Linked DNA regions of Homo sapiens: region 2 is linked to region 1. Evidence: promoter capture Hi-C in human tissues and cell types (Jung and others, 2019). All regions are on one chromosome and are shown on one strand. Each heading gives the region's core, a stretch centred on a gene start or on the middle of the fragment in contact. The rest is flanking DNA. Distances are from core to core; before and after follow the strand shown.

The links. Contacts are between HindIII fragments. The study calls those that stand out against the background at their distance.
Region 2: a fragment that was not itself captured here is called in contact with the fragment with the promoter of TAF8 in region 1 in 1 of the 25 tissues and cell types used here (dorsolateral prefrontal cortex).

The regions. Positions count from the first base shown.
Region 1 is chr6:42,047,268-42,052,626 of GRCh38, reverse strand. It overlaps TAF8 (TATA-box binding protein associated factor 8), which reads right to left and starts at 2,103. Exons shown (of 9, transcript NM_138572.3): 1 at 2,041-2,103; 2 at 1,114-1,270. The coding sequence starts at 2,085. It also overlaps a transcript of CCND3 not described here. RefSeq lists enhancers at 1,377-1,928, 1,598-2,147, 1,929-2,480, 4,237-4,286 and a silencer at 3,617-3,866. The HindIII fragment of the contact is 17,019 bases long and covers 1-5,359 here.
Region 2 is chr6:42,760,520-42,766,377 of GRCh38, reverse strand. It overlaps a transcript of BICRAL not described here. Among named protein-coding and RNA genes, the nearest start is that of TBCC, 17 kb to the right of the region's middle. The HindIII fragment of the contact is 4,121 bases long and covers 1-3,489 here.

The sequences.
Region 1 (5,359 bases), core at 854-3,353:
TTTTCAGCTGGGTGTAGTGGCTCATGCCTGTAATCCCAGCACTTTGAGAGGCCAAGGTGGGTGGATCACCTGAGGTCAGGAGTTCAAGACCAGCCTGGCCAACATGGTGAAACCCTGTCTCTACTAAAAATACAAAAATTAGCCAGGCGTGGTGGTGCACGCCTATGATCCCAGCTACTTGGGAGGCTGTGGCAGGAGAATTGCTTGAACCTGGGAGGCGGAGGCTGCAGTGAGCTGAGATTGTGCCACTGCACCCCAGCCTGGGCAACACAGTGAGACTCTGTCTCAAAAAAAAAAAGGGGGGGGGGGCTTTTCCCCTTCATTCTTTGTATCACACAATCTAGCATTTCATTACATAATGTGATGATATCTATTGCATGGGGAATTAGTCCTGACTCCCCAACAAAAGTCCTTAAGGGCACCCATAACTCACCAAGAGCTTAAAATCTCCCCAGCACTGAATGTTTTATATATACATCTCACTTACACTCACAAATCCATGAGGTAGAAACTGTTATCCCATTTCAGAAATGAGGAAATTGAGGTTCAGGAGATTCAGTGGCTTGCCCAAGCTATTAAGTGACAGAGTGATGATGTACACCAAGTCTATCTGATTCTAAAGCCTGTAAGTCACTTCATTATGCTCTTTTCTGTTTTTGTTGTTGTTGTTGGAGATGGAGCCTCACAGGCTGGAGTGCAGTGGTGCGATCTCAGTTCACTGTAACCTCTGCCTCCCAGATTCAAGCGATTCTCCTGCCTCAGTCTCCCGAGTGGCTGGGATTATAGACACCTGCCACCACGCCCAGCTAATTTTTTTGTGTGTTTTTTAGTAGAGACGGGGTTTCGCCACGTTGGCCAGGCTGGTCTTGAACTCCTGACTTCAGGTGATCCACCCGCCTCAGCCTCCTAAAGTACTGGGATTACAGGCGTGAGCCACCACGCTCGGCCCATTGTGCTGTTTTCTTTTCTCAACTTTTTACATTAAAAAAAATTTTTTTTCTCCCCTCTTAAGAAAAAAGTTTGTTTCTTAAATCCTCTCAAACACTATCACAAAGCAGGGCACAGAACTGATGTTGGGGTTGACTCCAAGGCCAAGTGTTTCCATGTACTCACAGCTCTGCAGCATCTCTGTCAGCGTTTCCACGGATGCTTTCTCGGCACTCTCAAACCCTGCCTCTGTCAGCAAGGAGCTCACAACCACCTGCAGGGTTCTCCTCCGGGCCAGATGATAGTTATCGGCAGGGTTAGTGGACTGTTTACTTCCCGATCTCTGTGAATCAGCAGAGAGATTTTCATCCACAGGAGAAGGATGCAATCACATAGTTCATACGTGGTCAACGGCAAGCAAAGTTATTTTACTAAATAATTTTATTTTAAAAATCAGTGCTTAATGTTTAGATTTACAGATCTTGGCCAACTGAGTAAAAATTGAGCACCCAAGGTGCTTTAAATACAGAGACCACTTCTCCGCTTACCTAAAACGTACAGTCCCAATGAGATAAAATAGCAGGTCTTTTACTTTCTACTTTAGCAGATTATTAGAATACATAGCTGAAGAAACACGCATGATGGGATTAAGACGTGTCCCGCAGAAAAAACAGGATCCCTCTCTTGTGCCTCCCATCTTCACACCATTTCATTGAAAGGGAAAATGAAAACAGTAACAAGAGGTGACCGCGAGGAGAGGAGGGCAAAAGATAAAAGCACAAAAAAGTAAGAAAGCTAAATATTTTGAAACGGGAATGCCTTTCAACTTTGGCCGGCCAATAAGAAGGCGAAAACGGCATCTTCAGACCAATCGGGGGTGTTCCGGGCTCCCAACCCCCAACAGCGAACGAGCCAATCAAGACACAGGTCCGCCAACTCCGGAGGCCGCAGCCAAGTCCCAAGGAGGGGGCGCCTACGGCCTGAAAACACCCTCCGCCAGTCGGAGCTCATGATGGGGCTGAATTTCTGGGCATTATCTTGTTGCTCAGTCGAGGGGAAAGTTGCAGGATACCCAAACTCTCTCGGCTCCGAGCCCGCGCTTCCTGCCCTTACCGTTCCGGAGCCACCGGCCCCAGCTGTGGCCGCCGCGTCGGCCATCTTGTTCTGGCGTAGTGTGCGCGAGCGCGGGGCGCGATGGGACTTGTAGTCGCGGGGCGGGGCGGGGCGGGGCGGCGTGCGCCCCTTGGTTTTCCGAAGCCCAGTCGGTTGGGGGACGCCTCCGGTGACCCCGGCTCACGTGACTTTTTTTTTTTTTTTTTGGATACAGAGTCTTGCTCCGTTTCACAGGCTAGAGTGCAATGGCGCGATCTCGGTTCACTGCAACCTCCACCTCCCAGGCTCAAGCGATCCTCCCGCCTCAGCCTCCGGAGTAGCTGGGATTACAGGCGGGCACCACCACGCCCCGCTAGTTTTTGTATTTTTAGTAGAGACCGAGTTTCGCCATGTTGGCCAGGCTGGTCTCGAACACCTAAGCTCAAGCAGTCCGCGGCCTCGGCCTCACAAGGTGCTGGGATTACAGGCGTGAGCTACCGCGCCAGCCTCACGTGACCTTTTGAGAGTGAAGTGTTCTGGGGCCTTCAGTGGCTTGGTTGTGGGCCAGGAAAACGCGCCCGGTTTCACTGAGTTAAAAGAAACCTATTTTAATATGAAAATCGGTTCTTATAAAGAGCATACCAGGAGATCATCTACACTCGCAGGGTTTTCCAAACTTGTCTTATTATTAGTAACACCTGGCTGGGCCCAGCCCAATCCCAGTGACTTCACTCTCTGGAAGAGGGGCTTGGGAATCTTTCTCATTAAGGAGCTCCCCAGATGATTCTTCTGAGCGAGTAATGTTGGGAAACCCTGGAGCATCCAGCCTGGTGATTTTGTGCTGAGGGCCGCCCCGCCTGTCAATGGCCCACTTGGAAGTAGAGCCTGGACCACCTAGTCCAAGTCTATCGCTGCATCCTGCTGCCTTCGCGCCCTCGACCCGCAAGTATTTGCGAGGCAAGTCTAGGGGGCGGGAGACTTGTCCCTTGCCGCCTCACTCCCAGGGCGTGGGGTGCCCGCGGCTACCAGTGGTTTTCTCCCTAGCCTGTCAGCCCCTCTAGCTGCGCCGTGTTCGTCCCCATTTGCAGGTGCCTGGCAGGACGCAGATTCTGGGCTTGGATCCTAACACTAGCCAGCTATGGTACTTCGGGCACTTGACCTTAATCCTCAGTGTGTCTCAGTTTCCTCTTCTGTAAAGCTGGGGGAAAGATGAGATGATACACAGAAAGAGTCTGTCACAGTGCCTGACGTGTAGTAAGAGTCAAGAAATCGGCCGGGCGCGGTGGCTCTCGCCTGTAATCCCAGCACTTTGAGAGGCCGAGGCGGGTGGATCACCTCAGGTCAGGAGTTCGAGACCAGCCTGACCAACATGGTGAAACCCCGTGTCTACTAAAAATACACAAAATTAGCCGGGCGTGGCGGCGTGCGCCTGTAGTCCTAGCTACTCGGGAGGCTGAGGCAGGAGAATAGCTTGAATCCGGGAGGCGGAGGTTGCAGTGAGCCGAGATCGCGCCACTGCACTCCAGCCTGGGCGACAGAGGGAGACTCCATCTCAAAAAAAAGAAAAAGAAAAAGAAGTCGCTCCTCATGATGTTGTTTACTTCCTGGATAGCACGTGGAGGAGTTGCCAACGCCGGGAGGCAGCGGTCCGGGAACCCGTGCTGCCCCGGCCCCGCCGCCCACACCTGAGCCTCCGTGGCGCCCCGCCCCCGCACCTATGCCGCGTGGGGCGGGGGCTGCGGGCGGGGGTGCGCGGCGCCGGATGAGCCTCCTGGCCTCGCCGAGGGTGTACAGGGGGTGGGAGAGTCAGGCCGGGGACCGAAACTTGGCTGAGCAGAGCACCAGCCCCTTTGTCTCCTCCGCCCCCTCTTCCCCACTTCCTGCCCAGCTCTGGATCGGCGGCGCGGCGCGGACTTTGTAAACACTTCGCCACTGCAGGGGTGGAGACTGGCTCTGTTCGGATGCCGGCCGGGGGGGAGAGGTGCAATCCTCTCCTCGCGGCTGGTGGTTGCGACCACCCCCACTCCCCAAAGGCAGGCTCCGGAGGCGGCGGGACAGAGCGCCTGCGACCCCAGTCGGTGCTCCGGGGAGGTCACCTGACGAGGAGGTAGGCTTGGGTGCTGGAGAAACCGGGGTAGATGGGATGTCAGCTCAGGCTGGAGACCATGCGTTGGGGATCGGTGCTGGGTGGGTCAATGGGGTCGCCGCATCCTCATCACTTCCTAGTTGGCACCGAAAGCTTGGCTCACTTTCCCACTGAGTGAGGTGTTCTGCACGGAATTGAAGGGCAGAGAAACCCCCAAAGGCCCTGAGCCCTCTGTATGTACACACATCGGCACAACCCCCTCCAGCTGATCTGGAAGCCCCGTGGCTTTACCGGGCTGTTGGTCTTCTCATGCCTCAAAGATGGGGTGGAAGGCCAGTAGGAGGGCAGACCAGTGTGGATGGGGAGTCTGTGAGTGCTCTGGCAAGTGCACCGGGATGAAACTGGAGGGAGGGACCCCTCAGTGGTGTCTGATTGATACATAGATGATGATCTTAGCTTCTTCTGTGTCTCTTGAAGTGCCAACAAGAGGAATAACTGAATAAATTGGTTGCTGTTACTAAGGGAGCATTAAGTTATTCATTTGCATTGATTGAACACCTACTATGTGCCTGGCATTATATGGAATGCTGAGGGTGCAATGATGTTATTCATCCACAGCTAATATGGATCACAAAACAATAGACATAGATGCCAAGTACACTGGCTGGGGTGGCTGGGAAGGCTTCAGAGAGAAAAGGACATTTGAGTTGGGTTCAGAAGGATGAAAAGCATAGAAGTCTTTGGGGGCACTTATTCCACAGAACTGGATTGAACCCCAGCTGTGGTGTTGGACACTGGAATATAGGGGCGACCCAGAAACAATTCCTGCTCCCTTTAATCCACTGTCTAACCATCAAGGGAATGAACAGGATGAATCCCAGAAAAGGCAGTTTTCTGGGCTGGGTCCCAAGAACCCAGGAATTCCCAGCTGGGTACAGCTGGGAGGGTCCACCTGGGGGTGATGTGACAGTCCACACAATCCTGGGCACCCCCTCCTCATCCCTGGACTCTGAGACTGTTTCCTCTGACGAGTCCTTGCCCTCTGCCTACCACCTCATTTCTCTTTGGGACCAGACGTGGATAGAGAAGTGGATCTCCCTTTGCTTCCTCACAGATTCTTCTGGCCGTTCAATTCTGGGGCTCCTTCGGGAAATGACTGACACAGCAATTTATGAATTCATTCAGCACCTATTTGCTATGGCCATACTCCATCTGCACAGGCTATTCCCACAGCTGTTGGGGATGTCATGGTAA
Region 2 (5,858 bases), core at 180-2,679, 710 kb before region 1:
AGCATCTACACATGAAGGTAGAAGCAGAATCTGGTCCTGATTTTCCCACTGACGATCCTTGTCCTGGCTCCAACTCTTCATCTCTCTCTCTTACCCCCAAGATTTGTGGAAAAGCCCCAGCTCTGGGCAAACTTGAGACTGATGACACAATCCTAAAGAACTTGACTACTCAGATAATATCAGAGAACTTTACAAAGTCACTCCTAAAGCAATTGATGAAAAAGTACCGGAAGGCTGGGCATGGTGGCTCACATCTGCATTCCCAGCACTTTGGGAAGCTAAGGTGGATGGATAGCTTGAGCCCAGGAGTTCGAGACCAGCCTGGGCAAAATCCTGTCTCTACCAGAAATACAAAAATTAGCCAGTCTTATAACCTGGTCTCAAAAGAAATAAATAGAAAACAAAAACAAAAAGCACTGGAATTAGTAGCAAACAAACAAATCCCCACATATACAATATAGTTTTTCCTCTTTTTAAACGATTTCTACACACTAAGTTTCTATCTTCCACAGGCTATATAATCAATCATTATATATTGCCTCAAATCAATGCTCACCCCTACAGGTTCTTAAAAAAAAAGCAGCAAATAATATTGCCTTGATCCCTGACAGCCTGTAGAGCTACCAACAAGAGAGCACCAGGAATCGCCCACTTGTACGATACATGAAGTCCTACAGTGGCTCTGGCTTTCTGGGGAACTCACACCTTTATCAAGAGCCTATATTTTCCTTGGCTTATGTTTGCAACACACATTTCACTCAAGCTTCACCTTTCACTTCATCATCATTCTTCAGATGAAAAGAGTTTCTATTACCTGAAGGGAATTACTCTGTGAAGACAAAGAACAGAAAAAAATAGCATGCATGCCATGTTTAAACACATACATGGAGCAGGGGGCGTGGCTTGCTCACTAGCTCAATGACTGTCTCCCTCCCCACAAGCCTCCTAGGATGTACTTGAATTTGCGCCTCAGCAAATTTCAAATTACTACATGTCATGGACCACTGGGATCTCTCCCAGAGAGAACTCCCAATTGTCAGAGCTACAAATCCCTGGCAACATAGCCCTGTTACGCATTCACATTCCTAAATGTTTCCTGCCATTATTCCGTCCTCCAAATCAGCCTCTTTCACTGTTTAGCAATAATAATGCAACTTTGTAATAGTTACTTTGTAAAAGCAAACTTTCATTATTATTACCAACTACAGAAGGGAAAAGTCTCTGCAGCACAAATAGGTTCTCACTTGACAAGACATTTCACAGGAGTTGGCTCAGCATGCATAGTTCCTTATTGCTACAGCGTTGTAATGACACAAAGACAGCTCTTTATCCAATTCAACAAACACTTCTGAGCCCCATAAAGTGCAAGGCATCATTTATTCACAAAACGTTTTTCTAACATTTTTAAAACATAACCTAGGCCGGGCGTGGTCGCTCATGCCTGTAATCCCAGCACTTTGGGAGGTTGAGGCGGGTGGATCACAAGGTCAGGAGATCAAGACCATCCTGGCTAATACGGTAAAATCCCGTCTCTACTAAAAATACAAAAACTTAGCCAGGCGTGGTGGCACACGCCTGTAGTACCAGTTACTCGGGAGGCTGAGGCAGGAGAATGGCATGAACCCGGGAGGCAGAGCTTGCAAGTGAGCTGAGATCGCACCACTGCATTCCAGCCTGGGTGACAAAGCAAGACTCCGTCTCAAAAAAACAAACAAACAAAAGACCCCATAACCTATAAAAAGAATACAACCTATCTCTCAAGTCGTGTATGTGTATATATAGAATACAGTTACATAATATAAATCTATATATGCAACACAAAACTCTTTTTTTTTTTTTTAAGACAGAGTCTTACTCTGCTGCCCAGGTGCAATCATGGCTCACTGCAGCCTCAACTTCCCAGGCTCAGGTGATCCTCCAACCTCAGCCTCTGGAGTAGCTGGGACTACAGGCACGTGCCACCACACCTGGCTAATTTTTTTTATTTTTGTGGAGACGAGGTTACGCCATGTTGCCTAGGCTGGTCTTGAACTCCTAGGCTCAAGCAATCCTCCCACCCACCTCCGCCTCCCAAAGTGCTGGGATTACAGGTGTGGGCCACTGTGCCCGACAGACATTTTTGTTTTTTTTTTTTCGGAAACAAAGTCTTGCTCTGTCGCCCAGGCTGGAGTACAGTGGCATGATCTTGGCTCACTGCAACCTCTGCCTCCCAGGTTCAAGTGATTCTCCTGCCTCAGCCTCCCGAGTAGCTGGGACTACAGGCGCGTGCCACCACACCCGGCTAATTTTTGTATTTTTAGTAGAGACAGGGTTTCACCATGTTGGCCAGGCTGGTCTTGAACTCCTGACCTCAGGTGATCTGCCCGCCTCGGCCTCCCAAAGTGCTGGGATTACAGGTGTGAGCCACTGTGCCCAGCCTTGGCAGACATTTAATATGCTATTTTCTTTTGTCTTTTTTTTTTTTTTTTAATGCACTAAATGCATTTCATGACCTCACTGGCTTGGTACCTGCATTTTGAAAACGCTCGTTTTTTTTGTTTGTTTTTTGTTTTTTTCTGAGACAGAGTCTCACTCTGTTGCTCAGGCTGGAGTGCAGTGGTGTAATCTTGGCTCACTGCAACCTCCACCTCCCGGGTTGAAGTGATTCTCTTGCCTTAGCCTCCCAAGTACCTGGGATTACAGGCACATGCCACCATGCCCAGCTAATTTTTACATTTTTAGTAGAGATGGGGTTTCACCATGTCAGCCAGGCTGGTCTTGAACTCCTGACCTCAAGTGATCCGCTTGCCTTAGCCTCCCAAAGTGCTGAAATTACAGGTGTGAGCCACCGCACCCAGCTGAAAACACTGGTTTGTAGTATTTCAAGAAAAGCGGCACATCATAGCAAACAATAAAATCCTACCTAAAGAAGATAACCTTAAAAATTCTAGGCAGAAGAATAATTTTTTGCTTCTTATTTAACTTTCAACTGCCAGGACATTTTAAAAGTATTTGAACTCAGTGAATGAGCATTTATATAAAAGCTTTTAAACGATCTCCAAATCTTTATCCTTTATCCTGAAGAACCTGAGACAGAAAAAGTAATCCTCTTCCCAATCTGTATTAAAGACTTACATCTGTGTCTTTTAAGAAATCTTAAACCTGTTCTTGCTTCAAATGATTACCCTCCTGGCAAGATTACCATGAAGATTAAATGAGATAATATAAGTGAAGTACCTCGTGGTTCCTGCTATGATTCAGGTTATTGGGTTATCTTTTCTTGAAAATGCTTGATCTGTTTGACCTTTGGGCTCATTCACCCAGAGAATCTGTTCTACTGGACAATAAGGGGCAGAGGCTCCCTCGAGGAGTTTACTAGCTCTATCAGTAAGAATAAATATCATTACAATCTAAGGTTCAAGAGTGCCAGGCTATTTCATTTATTCATTCAATAGATTTTTTTTTTTTTTTGAGACAGAGTCTCACTCTGTTACCCAAGCTGGAGTGCAGTGGGTATGATCACGGCTCACAGCAGCCTCGACCTCCCAGGCTCAAGCAATCCTCTGCCTCAGTCACCTGGGTAGCTGGGACTACAGGCGTGTACCACCACACCAGGCTTAAGTTATTTTACTGTTAGTAGAGACGAAGTATCATTGTTGCCCAGGCTGGTCTTGAACTCCTAGGCTCAAGGAATAAGTGCTGGGATTATAGGTGTGTCTACCACACCCAGCTAGATAATTATTGGGTGCCTCACATGCCAGGCATGATGCCATAAACTGGGATTATGGGGTGTAAAAAATAGGAGACACAACCACATCCCTCCAGGAACTTACAATTAAATACTTAGACTTTGTGAAGACACCTCATATACCACTAATATTACATAACACACAAGTGTTTTACATGCCCTTATCTGTAAAGTGAGATAAGATTAGATTAGTGGTTCCCAAAAGTGAAGATTTCACAGATAGCGAAGCTTTCATAAAAAAAATGCTTTAAAAAAAGTTTTTAAAACTGTCATTGAAATCACTATATATCTTTATCTTTTCCTTTCATTACAAGCCAGTTAAATTTTGTCCTGGCATTAAAGGAACCCTCAGAGTTTGCCCAGCTCTGTCTTTCTAGGATTCTTTGGGGCCTTTTTGTTTTGTTTTTTCCTGGCATTATTTACATGTAAATTCTGCCCAACTATTCCCCAGCATTGCAGAAAGGCCAGAGACCTATTCATAAGGGAATCAATAAAGGGCCCTTTCCAAGAAAGTCATAGAGTACAAAGCAAATTCGGCTCCACCACTGACCTTAAGGACTGGGAACTGCAAAAGAACAAAAGTATAAAAGGTCGTGGTGACTGGAAGGCAGAAGGACCTGGCATTTTTGAGGAGCTACTGTAGGCCTGGCCCAATACTTGGTACTTTTCCATACTGTAAGCACTTTATTTAACATCACGATAATCCTGAAAGAAGTACGTATTTCTTTTTCTTTCTTTTTTTTTTTTGAGACAAGGTCACCCAGGATAGAGTGCAGTGATGCAATCATGGCTCGCTGAAGCCTCGACCTCCTGGGCTCAAGTCATCCTCCGATCTCAGCCTTCTGTGTAGCTAGGACTACAGGCCTGTGCCACCATGTCTCGCTATTTTTTTTGGTATTTTTTATAGAGATGGCAGGGTCTCACCATGTTGTCCAGGCTGGTCTTGAACTCCTGGGCTCAAGTGATCCTCCTGCCTCAGCCTCCCAAAGTTCTGGGACTACAAGTATGAGCCACTGTGCCCAGCCAAGAAGTAAATATTTCTTTCTTTTTTAAAATTATCTCATGCAACAGATGAAAGAAGTATATATTTCTTTATCTGCACTTTGTAGTTGAAAGAAACCAAGCTCAGAGAGGTTAAATATCATTTCCAATGTCACAGAGCTAGTATTGCACAACTAATCAGAATTAATTAATTAATTTATTTATTGCACTCCAGCTCTGCTGCCCAGGCTGGATTGCAGTGGTGCAACCTCAGCTCACTGCAACCTCCACCTCCCAAGTTCAAGAGATCCTCCACCTCCCAAGTAGCTGGGATTACAGGTGCGTGCCACCATGCCCAGCTAATTTTTCTACTTTTAGTAGAGATGGGGGTTTCACCACGTTGGCCAGGCTGGTCTTGAACTCCTGGCCTCAGGTGATCCGCCAGCCTCAGCCTCCCAAACTGCTGGGATTACAGGCGTGAGCCACCGGTGCCCTATCAACTAATCAGAATTTAAACTCAGATCTGTTCACTTATTAGCACCACTACATCTCACTGATAGGAAGAGACGTGAGAGAACAGGTGCAGAAAAGTTTTAAGAGATTTAAGTACCTTTTTTTTTATTTGAGACAGAGTCTCACTCTATCACCCAGGCTGAAATGCAGTGGCGTGATCAGGCTGAAATGCAGTGGCGTGATCTCGGCTGACTGCAACCTCCACCTCCCAGGTTCAAGCAATTCTCGTGCCTCAGCCTCCCAAGTAGCTGGGATTACAGGCGCCAGCCAGCATGCCCAGCTAATTTTAGTACTTTTGGTAGAGATCGGGTTTCGCCATGTTGGCTAGGCTGGTCTCCAACTCCTGGCGTCAAGTGATCCACCTGCCTCTACCTCCCAAATTGCTGGGATTATAGATGGGAGCCCCAAGCCTGGTCTTATGTACCTTTTGACAAGAAAGTAATTTAAAAGCAGTCGGACACAGTGGCTCATGCCTGTAATCCCAGCTCTCTGGGAGGCTGAGATGAGCAGATTGCTTGAGCCCAGGAGTTCGAGACCAGCCTGGGCAACATAGCAAGACCTTGCCTCTAATAATAATAATAATAGTAATAATAATAATAATGTTGAAACCACATTCAAAAGGCAATTTATACAGCTG